Regions from separate parts of the Homo sapiens genome. Here all the other regions are linked to region 1. The links are contacts of gene promoters, found by promoter capture Hi-C in human tissues and cell types (Jung and others, 2019). All regions are on one chromosome and are shown on one strand. Each heading gives the region's core, a stretch centred on a gene start or on the middle of the fragment in contact. The rest is flanking DNA. Distances are from core to core; before and after follow the strand shown.

Evidence for each region. Contacts are between HindIII fragments. The study calls those that stand out against the background at their distance.
Region 2: a fragment that was not itself captured here is called in contact with the fragment with the promoter of WNK4 in region 1 in 1 of the 25 tissues and cell types used here (heart left ventricle).
Region 3: a fragment that was not itself captured here is called in contact with the fragment with the promoter of WNK4 in region 1 in 1 of the 25 tissues and cell types used here (thymus).

Annotation. Positions count from the first base shown.
Region 1 is chr17:42,778,602-42,783,011 of GRCh38, reverse strand. WNK4 (WNK lysine deficient protein kinase 4) reads right to left here and starts at 2,402. Exons shown (of 19, transcript NM_032387.5): 1 at 1,696-2,402; 2 at 82-254. The coding sequence starts at 2,313. VPS25 (vacuolar protein sorting 25 homolog) reads right to left here. Exons shown (of 6, transcript NM_032353.4): 6 at 3,413-4,055. The coding sequence ends at 3,943. RefSeq lists enhancers at 1-82, 1,372-2,329. The HindIII fragment of the contact is 5,514 bases long and covers 1-4,353 here.
Region 2 is chr17:42,314,304-42,318,713 of GRCh38, reverse strand. STAT3 (signal transducer and activator of transcription 3) reads left to right here. Exons shown (of 24, transcript NM_139276.3): 22 at 1,490-1,532; 23 at 1,813-1,925; 24 at 2,914-4,410. The coding sequence ends at 2,969. Among named protein-coding and RNA genes, the nearest start is that of STAT5A, 28 kb to the right of the region's middle. The HindIII fragment of the contact is 8,739 bases long and covers 1-4,410 here.
Region 3 is chr17:43,158,146-43,162,555 of GRCh38, reverse strand. The region is part of intron 1 of LOC101929767 (a long non-coding RNA gene); the gene reads left to right. LOC124900391 (a long non-coding RNA gene) reads left to right here. Exons shown (of 2, transcript XR_007065760.1): 2 at 1-2,268. It also overlaps a transcript of BRCA1 not described here. Among named protein-coding and RNA genes, the nearest start is that of NBR1, 11 kb to the left of the region's middle. RefSeq lists an enhancer at 2,614-3,144. The HindIII fragment of the contact is 5,552 bases long and covers 1-4,410 here.

The sequences.
Region 1 (4,410 bases), core at 1,153-3,652:
TTTGAGGAGCCTGGGAGTTCAGGAAGCAGTGGGCACACATCCCAGCCTCCCTCTCCCCACCCACTCATGCGCAGAGCTCACGTCTTGAGCGTGCCCGAGGTCATGAGTTCGGTGACCAGCACGATGCAAACCTGGCCCCTCAGCACCGACTTCCACGAATCATAGAAGCGGACGATGTTGGGGTGCTGCAGCCCCTTGAGCATCTCCACCTCCTCTGAGAAGCGCTGCCGCTCAGCTCTAGACAGTTTCCGAGTCTGTGGGATGGGGGACGGGTGTCATGTCAGGCCCAGGACACCCACAGAAAGGAAGAGGGACACCTGGAGTGGGGTTGGGGGAAGAGGTGAGGGTTGGAGCCCACAGATGGGGTGGGGTTAATGGGATTACTTGCCCAGTGGGCTGCAGACCCTGAACTCTCCAACAGTCCCGCACGTAAGCTGATCCAAGGACACACCCAACCTGGGCCTGGGGCAGCCCCCTAGACCCCCTGCTGGACACAAGCACCTTTATGCAGCCCGGTCCCAGAGCCCTGAGCTCAATAGTGCCTTTGTGGCTGCCCAGGCCGGCCATGGGGCGGGAGGGGGCACCCGGGGGCTGGCAGTGAGCAGGCAGCAGGCGGGCAGCAGGATACTGCGGGCAGGGAATTGGGGCCGGCAAGGGGGTTGGCCCCAGAAACAGAACTGCTAGATCCAGACGGAAGGCGGGAGGGATATGGAGGGAGGTACTGAGAAGGAAAGAAAAGATCCAGGACTAGGCGCCAGGAGGCTGCCCACCCCCATAGTCGTCCCGCCCCGGCTCCTCTCCCTCCCCTCACCCCCCAATTTGGCTGCCTCTCCTGGCCTGGCCCAGAGCCTGGGGCGCGGCACTGGCAGGCGCAAGGGGCGAGCCCTGTGCCAGGGCTGGAGAGGGACCCTTCCCCTAGGCTCTGTCCCCTGATCTGAATCGGAAGCTTCAGGCCCCAAGTTGACTGGGTTCTCCTAACCCATATGTAGCATGGGAGCAATGGGAGGAAGGTCCCCCTAAAGCCCATGGGCTTAGTGCCTTTAGGTCTGGGAAGGGAGAGCACAGGTAGGCAGTGGGATGAGGAGCAGAACTGGACTCACTCGAGAGCTGGAGCTCCCTATGTCCCCCTCCTCGCAGCTGTGGAGAAGTCCAGAAGTCTGACTGCTCCAGAAGGGGTTAGGGGGCCCTATTCTGCCACAACTGCCCTAAATCTTCTGGAGTTGGAGATGACCCTTGCCCAGCTCCTGGCTTCCCGCATCCCAGCCTCCTGGTCTGCAAATAGGTGGGGGACGGGAGGAGTGAGGGGATCAAGAGGACCAGGGTCATAACTGAGGATCTCAGGACTTAGGGGAGAGGAAGGGATTGCGGGTACCCACCAGCAGGAAACTGACCTGAACTGGCTCCCCTGCCTAACTTCCCATCCTATTTTCCACCTCTCAGGGTTGAGTATGGAGACTTTAAAGTGAGAATGTTCATACCCATGGGGGAGTCACCAGACACCACCTGCCTCAATCTCTCCTTCTGCAGCCCAGAGTCAGCCAGATCATTCAGGGCAAAGACAGCAGAGGTGTCTATAGACATTTGACTGGAAAAATACATGCTTCCCTTGATGCTGTCTCCCCCACCCTCTGTCTGTCATCCTAAGACCTCCAGAGTCCCATCCCAAGGTGCCACCGAGGGGGCTCCCAGCCGCACCTGCAGCTCACACCAGGCCACCTCCACTGTGGTGTCGGTGTCTAGCCCTCGATACACCGTCTTGAAGGAGCCACGTCCAATCTCGATGTCAAACTTGAGGTATCGGCCATCGGGGGACGTTGCCACAGCCTGGGTCTCCATGTCCTCCTTTTCTTCCTGCTCCCGCCGCCGCTCTAGGGCCACAGCTTCAGGGACCCTTAGCGGCTCCCTGGACCCCGGGCCCACTGCAGAGTCCGGGAGCTCGGGACGCGCGGAGTCTTCCGCAGCCTTCACAGGGGCTCCCTCGGTCCACGTGCCCTCGGGGGGTTCTTTGGAGCTAGGCGGTGGGCTCCTCGCGGGGCCAGGACCAGCGGAGTCCGGAGGATCGGGGGGGTCCGGAGCGGGTGAGGCTGGCAGGGACCAAGAGCTCAGCAGCCCCAAGTCGACTGAGCTACGGCGGCTGAGACGAGAAGAGCGCGGCCGGGGCTCAGCCTTCCCGGAGAAGCGGCGCGCTCGGCGAGGAGGGGGCCCGAGGCGGGGCTGCCCCGCGGTGCCAAGAGGAGGCGGGGGCCGCAGGGCCAGGTCGGCCTCAGTCTGGGACATGAGGACGGTGGTCTCCGTGGCCGGGGATGCCAACATGAGGAAGAGCAGGGCGCCGAAGGGTAGAAAATCAGACGGCCGGAGAGGAGGCGGCCTGACAGACGGACTCGCTGGGTGCGCTGCGCTCCGGCTGAGCGGCTGCGGCCCCAGCCCCCAGCTCGGCCTGGCCCCGCCCCCGTCGCCGCCCCGCGGCCCGCCCTTGCCCCCCAGGGCCGCCCCTCCGAGCTGCTCCCGCGGTGCGGATCCCGCGAGCAGCCCCTCACCTTAGTCACCGCCCCGCCCAGCCGCGTCCCCTTCTTTCCCGAGCCCCCGGCCGCAGTCTCACTCTGAGGCCAGAACTGAGTGGGAGACCGCGGAGCATCCTCCCGCACTAAGAGTGAGCAAACCTGTTTGTGCGCGGAGGAGGGCAGGAGAGAACGACACCCGGACCCTAGTGGGGGATTACTTAGGGGGAGGCTACCACCCTCCTGCACACCCCAGATAAGGCAGCACCACCCCCTCCTAACTGTCCGGAGTAGCCCCAGGCCGAACGGAGAGGTCAGTGGAAAGGTCTGACGTTGTTGTCCCTCTGGTCTGCATAGGGAATGGGTGTGTACTCCCCAGGATAAGTCCCTCCCCCAAACCGAGAGCCCGGTCATCCATCCCCTCCAGGCCACCTTGGCCGCAGCCTAACCCTGGCCAGAGTGGCTGTTTTTGCTATATGGGCTCTCCTTCCTCCCCTTCTGTTTGCCAGTCTCCAATAAACCAAAGTCCACATCCGGCTTACCCCCCTCAGCTCCCCTTGGCCACAGTTACCCCACCCAGACCAGATGGGTGGAGGGAGGGGCTTCAGAGTAGTTCAGGACTTCCATGAGGGAGATGGTGAGGGAAGGGGGAGCCCTTAAGTGACTCCAATTCAGAGAGAAAGCAGTCTGTCCCCAAGCTGTGTTCCATCAGCACTCCTCCACACAGCCCACCCAGCAGATGTAAAACCACAGGCTCACTGGAGCCCACAGGGCCCTGGAGGACCTTTTCTTCTACAAAAGCCATAAGCTTTCTTTTCTCTCCCCTCTCCCAGGCTGGGATTTACTCAGGTGGCAACACTTCACAGCCCTCCCCATCCCCATTCCAGTACTGTAGTAATTTAAGAGGCAGGCAGTGGGAGTTGAGATTTTAATATCATAAATCGGTGTGGGGCCACACCTCTCACTGCCAGGCCCGTGGGCCTCCTATCTTCATATTGCCTGGAAGGCTGCCTGCAGCCAGGGCTTCCCCCATCCCCTAGGAAGGATCCAGCACCAGCCTGAGAAGGGAGGCAACAGCAGCTAAAGGGGTGGGAGGAGGAGGAGACAGAAGCATGTGCTGCAGGCGCATGTGTGTATGTACTTACATGTGTGAACACATATAAAGTGTCAGGTTTACAGACCCTGGCTCAAGGACAGTCTAGGATGGGAAAGGAGGTAGGGCGAGAAGAAGCACATATTTTCTCCCTGGTGCTTCAGCCTCACCCTATCCAAGGGACAGACATATGGGGTGTGAGAAACCCATCCCCAGGTCCCAGCCTTCAGGACTGGAGTCCTTTTGAGTCTGGTGGAGTCACAGATCCAGTCTTTGGGGGACACTGGGTCTGTCTCCTTTTGAAAGCCCTGGAAAGGTGGGAGGTAAGAAGTAAAGGGAGACAGGTCCCTGCTAGAAGAACTTGACGCCTCGGCCATCGCTGACAGTGATGATCTCGGCCTTGTGCTCCTGCTGTAGGGCCTGCAGAGCCCGCAGTAGAGTGGCTTCATCCAGCCCGTGGAACTCTGAACAGGGAGAGATAGGCAGAGACAATCAGCTCCTGAGGCCCAAGGCCTCTGAGGAGAGTGCTCTGGCTGGAAGCCGAGACCTCCCAGAGGCAGGGTATGCATAAGCCATCTATACTGCTACAGCTGCCATCCACACTTCCCAGGCACTCCTTAGGAGTAAGGGGTGGAAGAAAGCCTGAATCAGCATGAAATGAGTTTGTGCTTATTTCCCCCTTCTTGGTTCTCCTCTCAGACTCAGCCTCCCCCACACCTAGCATTTGTGTCTGATGCACGAGAATGACACCATCTGCTTCAGGGCCACAAAGGGGCCGTGAAAATCAGGCCTAGGGAGATCGGAGCCATTGTCACTAGA
Region 2 (4,410 bases), core at 661-3,160, 460 kb after region 1:
GCCTCATGTTTTATGACCGTGCTGTTCTCAGCCCACCTCACCCTGCCCCATGCCTTCTCAATGGTTTGTTCACCTGAATTCCCCAGATTTCATGCCAGTATCCCCAAGGTTCCTTGACCTCTTGGTGTAAGCATTCAGCATCTAAAATTCATTTTATTCCCGTCAACGCATTTCTAACTGTAGAACAAGAATTATAAATGACAAAGCTCATAGAAAATTGGCACCTTGTCTTCCCCCTCCCTCTTATTTTATACATAAAAGAGAATATGGGCTGGGCATTGTGGCCAAGGCTGGGCATGATAGCTCATACTTGTAATCCAGCACTTTGGGAGGGTGAGGCAGATGGATCACCTGAGGTCAGGAGTTCAAGACCAGCCTGGCCAACATGGTGAAACCTCATCTCTACTAAAATTACAAAAAAAAAATTAGCTAGGCATGGTGGCAGATGCCTGTAATCCAGCTACTCAGGAGGCTGATGAAGGAGAATCACTTGAACCCTGGAGGCAGAGGTTGTAGAGAGCCAAGATGGCGCTACTGCACTCCAACCTGGGCGAAAGAGAGCAAGACTCCGTCTCAAAAAAAAAAAAGACAAAAATTAGCCAGGCATGGTGGTGCCACCTGTAGTCCCAGCTGCTTGGGAGCCTAAGGCAGGAGAATCGTTTTGACCTGGGAGTAGGAGGTTGCGGTAACCGAGATTGTGCCACTGCACTTGAGCCTGGGCAACAGAGTGAGACTCTGTCTCAAAACAATAAGAACAACAGCAACAAAAGAGAGAGACCATGCCTTGCTCCAGGTCTCTTAGCTATTGAAGATGTACCTGGACCCAGGTCTCCGGTCTTCTAGTTGAAGCAATTGTACTGCCTTACAAAGTCACATTCTCTTTGGTGCTTTTTGATTGACGTATTTATCCAACTAGAAAGTTACTCATGCCCTCATCCAAAAATGTGGTAGAGGCCAGATTAGTGCTGGTAGGAATAAGAGATATAACCTTTGGCTTTGGAACCACAAGCATTAGCAGTCTCCATGTTCTTTAAAGACTTGGTGATATTGGTATTTAGGCTGGACACCATGCAAAGACTACACAGGCTCGGTTCCTGCATGCAGAGAAGTTATCTAAGAGATATGACCAGGCCGGAATAGAATGCTCAGACCACGTGGAGGCTGTTAAACTTTTACATAATCTAGGGAAAGAAGGGACACAAGGTGGCATTAGTCTAGGGTCAGGTGGGAAAAGGTTATGCTGAAAAGTCTCTGCAGCTCAGGACAGCTTTGTGCAAAGAACTGAAGTTCACAGCTGCTAGTGCCTGGGAGATCAAATAGTATAAATGAGGGCAGACAACCCTGAGGGGCAGATGGAGCTTTCCAGACAATCTTGGCATGAGGATGAGTGAGTTTCAAATCAGTCCTGCCGAGGCAGATGGCTTCCTCCAGCTCTGCTTACTGAATGCGAAGTCACAGTCAGTAAGAAAACTGGTTTTCTTCTTCCCAGGCGCTGCCCCATACCTGAAGACCAAGTTTATCTGTGTGACACCGTAAGTGGCTTCCTTTCCCCGTTTTGCCTTCATTTCTAATATCCTCAGTTATCCCTGGGAATGGGACACTGGGTGAGAGTTAATCTGCCAAAGGTTGGAAGCCCCTGGGCTATGTTTAGTACTCAAAGTGACCTTGTGTGTTTAAAAAGCTTGAGCTTTTATTTTTCTGTTGGAGACCAGAGTTTGATGGCTTGTGTGTGTGTGTTTTGTTCTTTTTTTTTTTTCCATTGTGTCTTGTCAACCCCCCGTTTCCCCTCCTGCTGCCCCCCATTTCCTACAGAACGACCTGCAGCAATACCATTGACCTGCCGATGTCCCCCCGCACTTTAGATTCATTGATGCAGTTTGGAAATAATGGTGAAGGTGCTGAACCCTCAGCAGGAGGGCAGTTTGGTGAGTATTTGGTTGACAGACTTTGTCCCTATAAGGGAAGTTGGTCCCCTTTGTGTGATGCTCTCACATGTACACACCGAGAGCTGGTCACTCGGAATGGTAGGAGATTCTAGAGCTTTGCTTTCCAAAAGAGATGGTATGAATGCCACATGTGTGAGTATAAATCTTCTAGCAGCCACACTGGAAATAGACGAACTTAATTTTTACAATATATTTTATTTAACCCACTAAATCCAACATACTCTCAATTTAACATTTCAGAAAAAGTTGAGGCTGGGTGAGTGGCTCATGCCTGTAATCCCAGCACTTTGGGAGGCCGAGGTGGGTGGATCACTTGAGGTCAGGAGTTCGAGACCAGTCTGACCAAAATCTCTAAAATATAAAAATTAGCTGGGCATGGTGGCGCATACCTGTAATCCCAGCTACTCAAGAAGCTGAGGTGGGAGGATCGCTTGAGCCTGGGAGGTGGAGGTTGCAGTGAGCAGAGATCGTGCCACTGCACTCCAGCCTGGGCGACAGAGTGAGACTCCATCTCAAATAAACAAAACTAAACTAAAAAGAAAAAGTTGAGACCTTTTTTTATTCTTTTTTTTCATACTAAGCCTTTAAAATCCAGTGGGCTTTTGACAGCCACAGCACAGCTCAGTTTGGACAAACCAAATCTCAAATGCTTGGTGGCCACGTGTGTCTCGGGGCTCCTGAATTAAACAGTAGATCAAGGGCAGAAGATCTCAGGACAGCCTTAGAGCTTCTGTAAACATGGAGCTCTGGGAATCAGTTAAGGTGGGAATGAGAAAGGACCCTTCCCGAGGCAGGGTCCTCCAGGGAGGAGGGTAAATCTGGCTTTTCTGACCATCCCTGGGCCTTAAGGGGCAGGAGATTGGATAGCAGTGGTAGCCTGGGCCCTGTCCTCTGAAGGGCTGGGGGCGTGGCCTGCCAGTTGCAGAGGGTGGACAACTGAACTAGTTTTCCCTGTCTGTCCCTCCAGAGTCCCTCACCTTTGACATGGAGTTGACCTCGGAGTGCGCTACCTCCCCCATGTGAGGAGCTGAGAACGGAAGCTGCAGAAAGATACGACTGAGGCGCCTACCTGCATTCTGCCACCCCTCACACAGCCAAACCCCAGATCATCTGAAACTACTAACTTTGTGGTTCCAGATTTTTTTTAATCTCCTACTTCTGCTATCTTTGAGCAATCTGGGCACTTTTAAAAATAGAGAAATGAGTGAATGTGGGTGATCTGCTTTTATCTAAATGCAAATAAGGATGTGTTCTCTGAGACCCATGATCAGGGGATGTGGCGGGGGGTGGCTAGAGGGAGAAAAAGGAAATGTCTTGTGTTGTTTTGTTCCCCTGCCCTCCTTTCTCAGCAGCTTTTTGTTATTGTTGTTGTTGTTCTTAGACAAGTGCCTCCTGGTGCCTGCGGCATCCTTCTGCCTGTTTCTGTAAGCAAATGCCACAGGCCACCTATAGCTACATACTCCTGGCATTGCACTTTTTAACCTTGCTGACATCCAAATAGAAGATAGGACTATCTAAGCCCTAGGTTTCTTTTTAAATTAAGAAATAATAACAATTAAAGGGCAAAAAACACTGTATCAGCATAGCCTTTCTGTATTTAAGAAACTTAAGCAGCCGGGCATGGTGGCTCACGCCTGTAATCCCAGCACTTTGGGAGGCCGAGGCGGATCATAAGGTCAGGAGATCAAGACCATCCTGGCTAACACGGTGAAACCCCGTCTCTACTAAAAGTACAAAAAATTAGCTGGGTGTGGTGGTGGGCGCCTGTAGTCCCAGCTACTCGGGAGGCTGAGGCAGGAGAATCGCTTGAACCTGAGAGGCGGAGGTTGCAGTGAGCCAAAATTGCACCACTGCACACTGCACTCCATCCTGGGCGACAGTCTGAGACTCTGTCTCAAAAAAAAAAAAAAAAAAAAGAAACTTCAGTTAACAGCCTCCTTGGTGCTTTAAGCATTCAGCTTCCTTCAGGCTGGTAATTTATATAATCCCTGAAACGGGCTTCAGGTCAAACCCTTAAGACATCTGAAGCTGCAACCTGGCCTTTGGTGTTGAAATAGGAAGGTTTAAGGAGAATCTAAGCATTTTAGACTTTTTTTTATAAATAGACTTATTTTCCTTTGTAATGTATTGGCCTTTTAGTGAGTAAGGCTGGGCAGAGGGTGCTTACAACCTTGACTCCCTTTCTCCCTGGACTTGATCTGCTGTTTCAGAGGCTAGGTTGTTTCTGTGGGTGCCTTATCAGGGCTGGGATACTTCTGATTCTGGCTTCCTTCCTGCCCCACCCTCCCGACCCCAGTCCCCCTGATCCTGCTAGAGGCATGTCTCCTTGCGTGTCTAAAGGTCCCTCATCCTGTTTGTTTTAGGAATCCTGGTCTCAGGACCTCATGGAAGAAGAGGGGGAGAGAGTTACAGGTTGGACATGATGCACACTATGGGGCCCCAGCGACGTGTCTGGTTGAGCTCA
Region 3 (4,410 bases), core at 821-3,320, 380 kb before region 1:
TTTGTATAATGTTATTCTGTACAAGGTATGTAGCCCAGGAAGTGACCAACCTGATGTGTGTTATGACCCATCTGAGCCTCCCATGACCACGGTTTTTAAAATAAGATTAAGGACTGAGGACTGGTGGGGGCTCATAAATGATATGAGTAAAGTGTTAGCCAAAACAGAAGAAAAAGGGGTGCCCAAACAAGTCACCTTAAAATTTGATGCCTGTGCTGTCATTAATAGTAATAAGTTAGGAATAAAGTGTGGTTCTCTTAATTAGAAAAGAGGCTATATGGCAGAAAATAAGTACATCTGTCATAAATTAGGACTGTGTGGAAATAAATGTAAATACTGGTCTTGTGTCATTTAGGCCACTTGGATTTAAAAAAAATGAAAAGGATCCAGTCCACCTTCAGAAAGGAAAAAAATGGCCCTTCCTGTGCTAAGGGACAATGTAACCCCTTAGAGCTAGTAATAACCAATCCCCTTGATCCTCGCTGGAAAAAAGAGTAGCGTGTGACCTTAGGAATCAATGGGGCTGGACTGAATCCCCGAGTAAATATCTTGGTTCGAGGAGAAGTTTACAAATGCTCTCTTGAGCCAGTGTTTCAAACTTTCTATGATGAACTAAATGTGCCAATAACAGAATTTCCAGGAAAAACAAGAAATTTGTTTTTGCAATTAGCCGAGCATGTAGCCCAGTCTCTCACTGTCACTTCATGTTATGTATGTGGAGGAACTGTAATAGCAGATCAATGGCCATGGGAAGCCCGAGAATTAGTACCTACAGACCCAGTTCCTGATGAATTCCCAGCTCAAAAGAATCACCCTGATAATTTCTGGGTCCTAAAAGCCTCAATCATTAGACAATACTATATAGCAAGAGTGGAGAAGGACTTCACCCTTCCTGTAGGAAGACTACATGGTGGAGTTCAAACCACACAGAGAAAAATCCATTCAGTAAATTTCCAAAGTTGCAGACCGTTTAGGCCCACCCAGAATCCCACCGGGACTGGACAGCCCCCACTGGGCTATACTGGATATGTGGACATAGAGCCTACACTAAGCTGCCTGACAAGTAGTTGTGTTATTGGCACTATTAAACCATCTTTCTTCCTACTGTCCATAAAAACAGGAGAACTCCTGGGCTTCCCTGTCTATGCTTCCCGTGAAAAGCATAGCTATAAGAAATTGAAACAATGATAAATGGCCCCCTGAGAGAATCATACAGTATTATGGGCCTGCTACTTAGGCACAAGATGGCTCGTGGGGATACCGGATCCCCATTTATATGATCAACTGAATCATACGGTTACAAGCTGTCTTAAAAATAATCACTGCAACCGGCAGAGCCTTGACTATTCTGGCCCAGCAAGAAACTCAGATGAGAAATGCTATCTATCAAAATAGATTAGCTCTCGACTACTTGCTAGCAGCTGAAGGAGAGGTCTGTAGGAAATTTAACCTTACTAATTGCTGCCTACACATAGATAACCAAGGGCAAGTAGTTGAAGACATAGTTAGAGATATGACAAAAGTGGCACATGTGCCCGTGCAAGTGTGGCATGGATTTGATCCTGGGGCCATGTTTAGAAAATGGTTCCCAGCGCTAGGAGGATTTAAAACTCTTATAATAAGAGTTATAATAGTAATAGGAACCTACTTACTGCTCCCTCGTTTGCTACCTGTACTTCTTCAAATGATAAAAAGCTTCATCGCTACCTTAGTATACCAAAATGCATCAGCACAAGTGTACTATATAAATCACTATTGATCTGTCTAGCAAGAAGACATGGGTAGTAAACATGAAACAACTCCTGCTATTGAGTGAGAGTCTCAAAGTGGGGGAATAAGGGAGGAGACCACCCCTCATATTGTCTTATGCCCAATTTCTGCCTCCAAAGAAAGAAAAAGTAAAAACTAAAAGGCAGAAATGAAATCCACAAGCAGACAGCCCGGGCGCCACACCCTGGGACTGGTAGTTGAAAATCAATCCCGGACCTAATCGGTTATGTTATCTATAGATTACAGACATTGTATAGAAAAGCATTGTGAAAATCTCATTCCTGTTTTGTTCCAATCTAATTACTGGTGCGTGCAGCCCCCAGTCACGTACCCACGTACCTCCTGCTTGCTCAATCGATCACGACCCTCTCACGCACACCCCCTTAGACTTGTGAGTCCTTAAAAGGGACAGGAATTGCTCACTCGGGGCGGGGGCTCGGCTCTTGAGACAGGAGTCTTGCTGATGCCTCCGGCCTAATAAACCCCTTCCTTCTTTAACTCGGTGTCTGAGGAGTTTTGTCTGCAGCTCGTCCTGCTACAGGTGAAACCCCATCTCTACTAAAAAAATACAAAAAAATTAGCCAGGTGTGGTGGCGGGTGCCTGTAGTCCCAGCTGCTTGGGAGGCTGAGGCAGGAGAATGGTGTGAGCCTGGGAGGCAGAGCTTGCAGTGAGCCGAGATCATGCCACTGCACTCCAGCCTGGGCAACAGAGTAAGACTCCGTCTCAAAAAAAAAAAAAAAAATCATGGATGGTTGGTGTCATGGAGGGGATAGGTCTTTGGAAGAACCTTCCTCTGAAGCTGGCTCTGTACATTTAAATAAGAATACTGCAAATCATCAAAGCCTTTAGCAAGTCTGACTCTTGGAGTGAGCCTTTGTTTTTCTTCATTTATAAAAGGAAAAGGGGACTGTACTGTTCACATTTATTTATTTTTTTATTTTTTTAATTGATCATTCTTGGGTGTTTCTCCCAGAGGGGGATTTGGCAGGGTCATAGGACAATAGTGGAGGGAAGGTCAGCAGATAAACAAGTGAACAAAGGTCTCTGGTTTTCCTAGGCAGAGGACCCTGCGGCCTTCCGCAGTGTTTGTGTCCCTGGGTACTTGAGATTAGGGAGTGGTGATGACTCTTAACGAGCATGCTGCCTTCAAGTATCTGTGATGTGAGGAGCGCCTCTGCCCGGCCGCGACCCCGTCTGGGAGGTGAGGAGCATCTCTGCCCGGCCGCCCCGTCTGAGAAGTGAGGAGACCCTCTACCTGGCAACCGCCCCGTCTGAGAAGTGAGGAGCCCCTCCGCCTGGCAGCCACCCCGTCTGGGAAGTGAGGAGCGTCTCAGCCCGGCAGCCACCCCGTCCGGGAGGGAGGTGGGGGTCAGCCCCCGCCAGGCCAGCCGCCCCGTCCGGGAGGGAGGTGGGGGTCAGCCCCTGCCAGGCCAGCCGCCCCGTCCCGGAGGGAGGTGGGGGGGTCAGCCCCCTGCCCGGCCACATTTTGTTTTTGAATCGAGGTATAATTTACATACAGTGAAATGCAGAGGTTTTTTTATACAGGATCTCTGTCGAGAGGCTGGAGTGCAGTGGTGCTATCACAGCTCACTGCAGCCTCAACCTCGCCAGGCTCAAGCGATCCTCCCACCTCAGCCTCCAGAGTAGCAGGGACTACAGGTGTGCATCACCATGCCCAGCTAATTTGTGTGTGTGTGTTTGTGTGTGTGTTTGTAGATATAGGGTTTTGCCATGTTGGCCACGCTGGTCTCAAACTCCTGACCTCAAGTGATCTACCCACCTTGGCCTCTCAAAGTGCTGGGATTACAGGTATGAGCCTCTGCACCCAGCCATGGTCTGAAAATCTTGATTGAAATACCACCTTTTCATTTCCAGACACCGCTATTTAAAGTTACAACACCCTCAAGACACACTTTATCCTCCATTCCTGCTGCTTCTCCATAACACTTATTACTAGCTGACCTTCTATGTAATGTATCTATCCTTTATCTCTAGTCCCACAGAATGTAAACTCCAGGGCAGCAGAGATTTTTGTTTCGTTTATGTACATCTGTATATTCAGTAGTTAAAACAGTACTTGGGACCTAGTTGCCACTCAATAAACATTTGTTGAATAAATTAAATAATAAACTACATTAGTTCTTCAATTAATTTTTTAAAATATGGTGGTTAATAGTGAGTAACATTCAAAAAATAAGTTGAAAATTTATACCTATTGCCTCTTACCCACAATAAAAAAGGGTAAATTCAAGGAAATTTTCTTTTGTGCTTTATGAAAGTTGTTTTTCATATTTGGAGTCATGTCAATCAGATTAAGGAAAATGCAAGTTGTGTTTTCAGAGAGATACAAGATTTATAAATAACCATCCTCTCCCTTGCCCTTCAACATTTTAGCTAAACAAAAACAAGAGGAAAACAAGATTTACAATTTATCAATTCATTGAAAATCAGAGCCAGAGAAGCAGGAAATGACATTGTAGGAAAAAACTGCTTTTGAAAAAGCACAACTTACTCATGACAATCAGAGTGATCAAAAAAATCCTCAATAGTGTGGCATTTGGATCCATTTATCATTACATTTCCATGGGACAGAGTCATAAAAATAGGATGTTCTTTCTCATTATGGCAAATTAAACCAT